Regions from separate parts of the Homo sapiens genome. Here region 1 is linked to region 2. The links are contacts of gene promoters, found by promoter capture Hi-C in blood cells and fetal thymus (Javierre and others, 2016). All regions are on one chromosome and are shown on one strand. The core of a region is centred on a gene start or on the middle of the fragment in contact, and the rest is flanking DNA. Distances in the headings are between cores, read along the strand shown.

The links. Contacts are between HindIII fragments. The CHiCAGO score rates a contact against its expected background, and 5 or more counts as called.
Region 1: a contact is called between a fragment that was not itself captured here and the fragment with the promoter of JPT2 in region 2, in 9 of 17 cell types (naive B cells, total B cells, M1 macrophages and 6 more). The highest score is 8.5, in naive B cells.

Annotation. Positions count from the first base shown.
Region 1 is chr16:1,369,427-1,373,457 of GRCh38, reverse strand. UNKL (unk like zinc finger) reads left to right here. Exons shown (of 15, transcript NM_001372107.1): 11 at 1,847-1,939; 12 at 3,101-3,328. It also overlaps the pseudogene TJP1P1. Among named protein-coding and RNA genes, the nearest start is that of GNPTG, 20 kb to the right of the region's middle. The HindIII fragment of the contact is 9,841 bases long and covers 1-4,031 here.
Region 2 is chr16:1,676,221-1,680,740 of GRCh38, reverse strand. JPT2 (Jupiter microtubule associated homolog 2) reads right to left here and starts at 2,462. Exons shown (of 5, transcript NM_144570.3): 1 at 2,385-2,462. The coding sequence starts at 2,428. CRAMP1 (cramped chromatin regulator 1) reads right to left here. Exons shown (of 21, transcript NM_020825.4): 21 at 2,833-4,520. RefSeq lists silencers at 2,046-2,405, 2,436-2,835 and an enhancer at 1,970-2,605. The HindIII fragment of the contact is 3,871 bases long and covers 232-4,102 here.

The DNA.
Region 1 (4,031 bases), core at 1,517-4,016, 310 kb after region 2:
TGTTGGCCGGCAGTCCCTGTGTGGTGTGCCCCACGCTGCTGAGGTCTCTGTGCGGTGTTGGCCGGCAGTCCCTGTGTGGTGTGCCCCACGCTGCTGAGGTCTCTGTGCGGTGTTGGCCGGCAGTCCCTGTGTGGTGTGCTCCACGCTGCTGAGGTCTCTGTGCGGTGTTGGCCGGCAGTCCCTGTGCGGTGTGCTCCACGCTGCTGAGGTCTCTGTGCGGTGTTGGCCGGCAGTCCCTGTGCGGTGTGTTCCATGCTGCTGAGGTCTCTGTGCGGTGTTGGCCGGCAGTCCCTGTGCGGTGTGTTCCATGCTGCTGAGGTCTCTGTGCGGTGTTGGCCGGCAGTCCCTGTGTGGTGTGTTCCATGCTGCTGAGGTCTCTGTGCGGTGTAGGCCGGCAGTCCCTGTGTGGTGTGCTCCACGCTGCTGAGGTCTCTGCGGTGTTGGCCGGCAGTCCCTGTGTGGTGTGCCCCACGCTGCTGAGGTCTCTGTGCGGTGTTGGCCGGCAGTCCCTGTGTGGTGTGCCCCACGCTGCTGAGGTCTCTGTGCGGTGTTGGCCGGCAGTCCCTGTGTGGTGTGCTCCACGCTGCTGAGGTCTCTGTGCAGTGTAGGCCGGCAGTCCCTGTGCGGTGTGCCCCACGCTGCTGAGGTCTCTGTGCGGTGTTGGCCACAACACTGGGCTGGGCTGGGGAGGCGGCGCCGGCCCACAGGGTGTATCCCAGAGCTCCTGCAGCCGCTGCGGTCCTCTGGTCTGCCCCAGGTGGCACGTGGGCTCTCAGATCCCAGATCCTCTGGTCACCCCTCACCCCCAACCCAACTTCTGTGCAGTGGCTGCGGGAGTTTGAGACACGCTGTGGCTTCAGGGGCTGGTGGCCTGAGCTCAGCCTCCTCATGATGGCTTCCTAATTCTAGGAAGGGGCAGTGGGGTCCCTGCTTGCCATTCGGGGTTGGGGGTGGGGACTTGGGAGGGAAGGGCCCGTGCAGGAGGGCAGCCCCACGGCCTGCAGGGATGTGTGGGGACAGCCTTGGAAGGCAGGGCTGGCTGGGTGAGGCCACTCTGAGGCGGGTCCTTCCCACTCAGTCTTGAGCCTTGGGAATTGAGGTCTTGGTGCTTGGCATGAAATTGCACGTGAACACCTGCTCCTTGAAATCACCCTCACAGAAAGTTTTTTTTTTGTTTTTGTTTTTGTTTTTTTTGAGATGGAATCTTGCTCTGTCGTCCAGGCTGGAGGGCAGTGGCACGATCTCGGCTCACTGCAAGCTCCGCCTCTGGGGTTCACACCATTCTTCCGCCTCAGCCTCCCGAGTAGCTGGGACTACAGGCACCCGCCACCACGCCTGGCTAATTTTTTGTATTTTTTTTTTTTTGGTTGAGACGGGGTTTCACCGTGTTAGCCAGGATGGTCTCGATCTCCTGACCTTGTGATCTGCCCACCTCGGCCTCCCAAAGTGCTGGGATTACAGGTGTGAGCCACCGCACCCGGCCCTGGAAAGTTTTTTAAACAGTCGAATGTGCACACGTGGACAGATGCTAACACACACTTAGGTATTTAAACTCTGAGGGGCAGCAGCAGCGTGTCAGAGGCGAGGACCCAGCTGCTGGTCTGTGGTGCGGGGCGTCCCACCTGAGCACGCTCGTTTTGCCGGAGGAACAGCCAAGCCTCACACTGCCTGTGGGGGGCTGCGAGGACGGGCTGGGGGTGTCCTTCCCTGGCTGCCCCAGCAACTCCCACGCCTTCTGCCCTTGGTCTCACTCTAAGCCCAGGTGGGACGGTCGTCCTCCTCAGCTAGGCTTCCTGAGCTCTGCAGCGCTGGGTGGGCTGTGGATGATGGGGGGCTCTGTTGACAGGTTCTGCGTTAGACCTGCATCTTAGCAATGTGAATATTGCATCCCTAGAGAAGGACCTGGAAGAGCAAGACGGCCACGACCTGGGAGCAGCAGGTGAGGGTGGGGAGGACCTGGGGCCCTGCTCCTCCAGCCGCTGAACAGCCAAGTGCTGTGGCCGGAGGATCGCTTGAGCCCGGGGAGGTCAAGGCTGCAGTGAGCTGAGGTTGCACCACTGCACTCCTGCCTGGACCACAGGGCAAGACCCGGTGTCTGGTTTTCGGAGCGGGAGGATCCCCTTCTGGCGGTACCTCCTCCTCCTCTCCCTGACTGCCTCTCCCTTTCCCTCCCCTGCACATGGACTCCTCAGCATCTCTCCTGCCTCGGGCCTGCCCACTTCTTCAGTTGACCTTTGTCCCAGCAAAGTGGCCGCGCAGAGACAGGCGGGGCCTTTCCTGAAAGTCTTGATGGTCCCCGAAGGATAAATGTATTCACATTGTAGACAAAAGATTGACATCCATACAAATGTATCTTTTTTTTTTTTTTTTTTTTTGAGACAGAGCCTCGCTCTGTCGCCCAGGCTGGAGTGCAGTGGCGCGATCTCCGCTCACTGCAAGCTCCACCTCCCGGGTTCACGCCATTCTCCTGCCTCAGCCTCCGGAGTAGCTGGGACTACAGGTGCCCGCCACCACGCCCAGCTAATTTTTTGTATTTTTAATAGAGACGGGGTTTCACCATGTTAGCCAGGATGGTCTCCATCTCCTGACCCCGTGATCTGCCCGCCTTGGCCTCCCAAAGTGCTGGGATTACAGGCGTGAGCCAGTGCGCCCGGCCCCATACAAATGTATCTTAACATCGTATACAACATCTTTTCATTCAGCCTAAAAGTGTATCTTTTCTTTCTTTTAAAAGAAAGTAAACCATTTCAGGGGGCCTGGACAAGTGCTGGGAGGACCGTGCCAATGGCTTAGTTGGCCGGCAGGGCCTGGTGGGTGTCCGGCCTCTTTGGGGGGGGCCCATGTTAAACCCCCGTCTCCCCACCTCTGGTTGGAATCCCTTTGAGCCCATGGCTTGCCCAGCTGTGTTGGACATGGCCACCGGGGGCGCTGTGGCTCCAAACACATAGATGGTGGTGGCTGGCCTGGCCCCTATATTCCCACCCCCCATATCCCCACCACCACCACCTGCAGGGTCCGTCTTCCACGGCTGCCGCCCATGGCAGATGTTTGGGCAGAGGCCTGGCGGTACTCCCTTCGCTGACTGGTCCGCCCCCGCCAGGTCCCAGGTCGCTGGCCGGCTCTGCACCTGTCGCCATCCCCGGCTCCCTGCCCAGAGCACCATCGCTACACTCGCCATCCTCTGCGTCCACCTCGCCGCTCGGTTCGCTGTCCCAGCCCCTCCCAGGGCCGGTGGGCTCCTCAGCCATGACGCCTCCCCAGCAGCCGCCACCCCTGCGTTCAGAGCCGGGCACACTGGGCTCTGCAGCCTCATCCTACAGCCCCCTAGGTGAGTGCCGGCTCCCTCCATGCTGGCGTTGCCGTGAAGCCTCCGTGGGGCTCCCTCCCAGATGCCGTCCTGACTGAGGGGCCTCACACGGAACCTTGTGCCCTATCTGTGGTGGCAAACCACATGACCTGCTGCTCACAGGTTCCCCCACGCCGCAGACCGAGTCTCGCTCTGTCGCCCAGGTTGGACTGCAATGGTACGATCTCGGCTCGCCGCAACCTCCGCCTCCCAGGTTCAAGCAATTCTCCTGCCTCAGCCACCCAAGTAGCTGGGACTACAGGCGGGCGCCACCACGCCCAGCTAGTTTTTGTATTTTTAGTAGAGATGGCGTTTCATCACGCTGGCCGGGCCGGTCTCAAACTCCTGACCTCGTGATCTGCCTGCCTTGGCTTCCCAAAGTGTGGGATGACAGTGAGCCACCGTGCCCGGCTATTTGTTACGTTGTAAAAGAACTAACACTTGGTCGGGTGCAGTGGCTCACACCTGTAATCCCAGCACTTTGGGAGGCTGAGGCAGGCGGATCACCTGAGATTGGGAGTTCAAGACCAGCCTGACCAACATGGAGAAACCCCATCTCTACTAAAAATACAAAATTAGCCGGGTGTGGTGGTGCATGCCTGTAACCCCAGCTACTGGGGAGGCTGAGGCAGGAGAATTGCTTGAACCTGGGAGGTGGAGTTTGCAGTGAGCTGAGATTGTGCCA
Region 2 (4,520 bases), core at 1,213-3,712:
AAAGCATAACGCTTTTACGAAACCCCTTTAACACAAGACAATCCCTCAGCAAGGAAAGGAGAGATGTGAGGTCTCAGGAGAGGAAAACCTGGCTAGGTAATCTTACAGCCACCACCTGACTCGCTTCACAGCAAAACTAAATGTGACGCTTACAAGGCGCCCGCCCTGCGACTCGACCCCGTTCAGATGAGTGGCAAATGTGCAGCGTCTGGTGGACCCCAAGCAGAAGCTTCCAGTGATACCTCATCATCCAGTTCAGACCGGCTTTCCTTCCTCACCATCCTAAAAGGAAGAGTTTTCTCCCTTTCTCAACACCTTGTCCAGAAACCAGTCCCCCAGGGTAGTGTGAGTATGACTTTAGTGCGGCCCTGTGCAGCTAACTTCTGGAGCGTGAAAGTCAATATAAAAACATCGGCGTCGCTCAGGGTGATAATAAACACCATCATTTACCGGGCAGCCAGTGCCAGGCAGCACAAACAAAAAGGAAACGTACTAAATGCACACAACTGGGACAGGGCTGGGGATGCAGTCCCTCCCCCCACTGATGTGGGTGGTGCAAAACTCTGGCCACCAGGAACCAGAAACCGGATTCGCTCTGAGCACTAGTTTAAACTCCTGGTCCCACATCGGTGCAGACCTAGGCATAATAATCACTGTTCCATGGATGAAGGGCTGTTTCTTTGAGACGGAGTCTTGCTCTGTCATCCAGGCTGGAGTGCAGTGGTGTGATCTCGGCTCACTGCAAGCTCCGCCTCCCGGGTTCACACCATTCTCCTGCCTCAGCCTCTCAAGGAACTGGGACTACAGGCACCCGCCACCCCACACCCGGCTAATTTTTTCGTATTTTTAGTAGAGACGGGGTTTCACCGTGTTGGCCAGGATGGTCTCGATCTCCTGATCTCGTGGTCCACCTGCCTCGGCCTCCCCAAGTGCCGGGATTACAGCCGTTGAGTCACTGCACCCTGCCACGGGTAATTATTTGGTTACAAGTATTACTGAATACTGACCTAACTCCCTCAAATCTAAAGGGTTTTTTTTTTTTTTGAGACGGAGTCTTGCTCTGTCGTACAGGCTGGAGTGCAGTGGCATTATCTTGGCTCGCTGCCACCTCTGCCTCTGGGTTCAAGTGATTCTCCTGTCTCAGCCTCTCCAAGTAGCTGGGACTACAGGCACACACCACCACGCCTGGCTAATTTTTGCATTTTTAGTAGAGACGGGGGTTTCACCATGTTGGCCAGGCTGGTCTCGAACTCTTGACCTCACGTGACTCGCCCACCTCAGCCTCCCAAAGTGCCGTGATTACAGGTGTGAGCCACCACGCCCGGCCAATCTAAAGGGTTTTTATTTTTAGCAAGTTGGAGCAATTCTTTTACTTAGTATTTATTCAATATAGTATTTGTCTTCACTTGATCATAGCCAAAAGGCTGAGAAGCAATATAGTATTGGTCTTAACAGTCATGGCACACATATTCTCTTCTACTTCTCTGGCGAGGCTGTGCCACAGAGGGGCTCATCATACAGAAAACCTCAGGCATCTGAAGACCCAAACTTCACAATGCAAGTTTACTGCTCAAGTGGCACGAAAGACCTTGTAAGCTCTGTCCCTCTAATTCATGCGAGTCCCAATACCCAAAGAGTGCTTTAAAAGTTCAAAAACATAAGAAAAGTGTGCTCAGTGTTCCTGGCTATTAAAGCTGAGTCAGGATATCTTCGTCCCAATCCACTTCTTCCTACAGCGAAGCCCAGGAGCGCCATCCACCTTCCCAGGAGATAGAACTGACTCTTCCCCAGACGCCCTGGCACTTTCCAAAGGAAGTGGACTCACATGAACTAGTGGAAGCGCGGCCATGGGCAGGGCACAGGCCACACACACACCAGGGACACGGGCACACGGCCACACGCACAGGAGCGGGGGCATGGCCAGACACCCCCCACGAACACATCGCCGCACACCCCTTAGGGACACCCCCCCGGGAACATGGACACGCATCCCACAGACAAAATGGGCCGCACCCACGGGCACACCCCGCCCCCAGGAAACCCCCCACGGAACGCACCACACGGAACGCGGGCGCCCAGGCGCGAGGGAGCGCAGCCCGCCCTCCACACAGCTTTGTTCCCAGAGCCCGGGCGCCCCTCCCCGCCCTCGGCCTCGGTCGCGGGCAGCTCTCCACAGCCCGGGCCTCAGCGAGCGGCCCCTCGGGCTTCGGGCCTCGGTCTGGCGGCGGCGCAGAAAGGCGGGCGGCGGCCCCGAGGGCCTCTGTGAGGTCGCCCTGCCCCCCAACCCCACCCCAACCCCACACGGCTGGTGGACGCCCTGGGCTGGCCCGCTCCCGCCACGTGGTCGCGCTATCCGCCCGCCTCCCGTGTGCCCCGCGCCGCACCTGGAGCCGGCGCGGCCGCCCTCGCTATCCGGGACCTGGAACATGTCGACCGCCGCCACCCTCAGCTCGCCGCGCGCCGTTCCCGCCCGCCCAGCGCAGGTACTCAAGGCCGCCCGCCAGCGCCCATTGGGCGCCAAGACGCCAATCATCCCTCCGCAGCCTATCTCAGCGCGGCCACCGCCCCTCACGCCCACCCCCGACGACTTAGGCTTTGAACGGTCGGCGCCGCGCCCGCAGCCGATTGGGGAAGGCGACGCCGCTCGCGGAGGTGGGAGCTCGCATTGGGCGGCGGGCCGGGCGGGCCCTGGGACGGCCGCGCCCTCGGGAGGAAGCCCGGTCTGCGGGAGCCCGCGAGCCGACCGCGGGGCCGCACCTGGGCCGCACCTGCCCGACCAGGGACTGCGGGCATGGGCGCGCGGCCCTGAAGAACAGGCACAAACGACAGTCCTTAGATCAACATTAGTATGTATTTATGCACAATAAAAACATTTACAAGTTGAACTGGAAATTTAAACAGAAGTTTAACAGCTCTTATTATATTAAATAACCAAAACACCTTTTATTCCCAAAATTGGTAAAGAATAAATAATATAATTTACAATATGGTACAAAAAATAACCAGGAAAGGCAGGCATTCTGCTTTATACATACACTGTATATGCATATTTATAATCTATAAAACAAATTCATATCTGAAACGAGCGGAGGCCTCGCTATGGCTTAACCGAGTAAGAGAGAGAAGGGGAGCGGGGCGCGGGAGGCAGGGCCAGGGGCTGGGCTCCCCACACCTCACCCACCCCAAGGACACGCAGCCACTGTGACATCAGGAGAGCGCTGACAGCCGCGAAGGGTGTGCTGTGGGTTTTTTTCCTTCGTTGTAAATTACTCTTTCCTTGCTTTCTTTTTTTAACTTGAGACCCAGTTTCGCTCTTCTTGCCCAGGCTGGAGTGCACTGGCGCGATCTCGACTCACTGCAACCTCCGCCGCTGAGGTTCAAGTGATTCTCCTACCTCAAGTCTCCTCAGTAGCTGGGATTATGGGCATGCGCCACCACGCCCGGCTAATTCTGTACTTTTAGTAGAGACAGGGTCTCTCCATGTTAGTCAGGGTGGTCTCATACTCCCCACCTCAGGTGATCCGCCCGCCTCGGCCTCCCAAAGTGCTGGGATTACAGGCGTGAGCCACTGCGCCCGGCCTCCTTCCTTGTTTTCTTAAGACAAAGTGCTGTATTTCCTGACAAATGCATCGGCTAGAGCTCAAGGTTTAAAGAGAAAACACAACTGTCTTCCTCCTCCCTCATTCCCGGTGTCTTATGCCCCACAACTTTCTTTGCAGAAGAAATTTTGAATTCAATGCTGTGATCTAATTAAAGATGCTATTAAACTAAAAAGGTTATCCACCAGAAATGAGGCCACGGCCTCTCATGCCCAGAACCTGGAGGTGCGGCAAAGCAAGGAGGCCAACCGCGGAAACGCCGCCAACACCCCACTCCCTGAGCTGGCACCCTACAGCTACAAGACACAGAAGGACAAAACAGCCAGGAAGCCACGAACTAGGCATCCCCCGAGGCACGCAATGCCCGCTTATCACTGCACATCCACAACAGAATTGAGGCCAGAGGACTAACTTCCCTGGACCACAGATGCTCTGTCCCAATCTCCAGAAAAGACGAATCAACAGAAAGATCCCAGGCAACGTCAGAGGGATTCAGGAAAGCTTTTTCTAAGAAACTGATCTCATCTTAATTACAGCATGCTCAAATGCACAAAGGAAGCCACAGGCTCATACTTAGACGATCACCGCTTCTGTTGGAAAGGCAGAAGATGCAGGAAGTCTCTGTTTGGATCTTTTGAAAATTCCAGCCTTTAACAGTTGCCTATGTTTGCACATAAATATTCATTTAGGCCAGAAGAAAATGTATCCATTGTTTTTCTGCAACAAATGACACCATTTTCCCTTAATGTGGCAAGCAAATGCGTATCACCTGTCTAGTTACTAGAGAAGCAGAATCCTCTAGAACTCTTGTCAGCTTTATTACAGGAGAGGAGTCAGCCCGTCCTCCTCCCTAACCCATCTCCCCACTGGATGGCAATGGCTGCAGTTGGCTGCTCCCAGGAGTCTACGCTGGAGAACCAA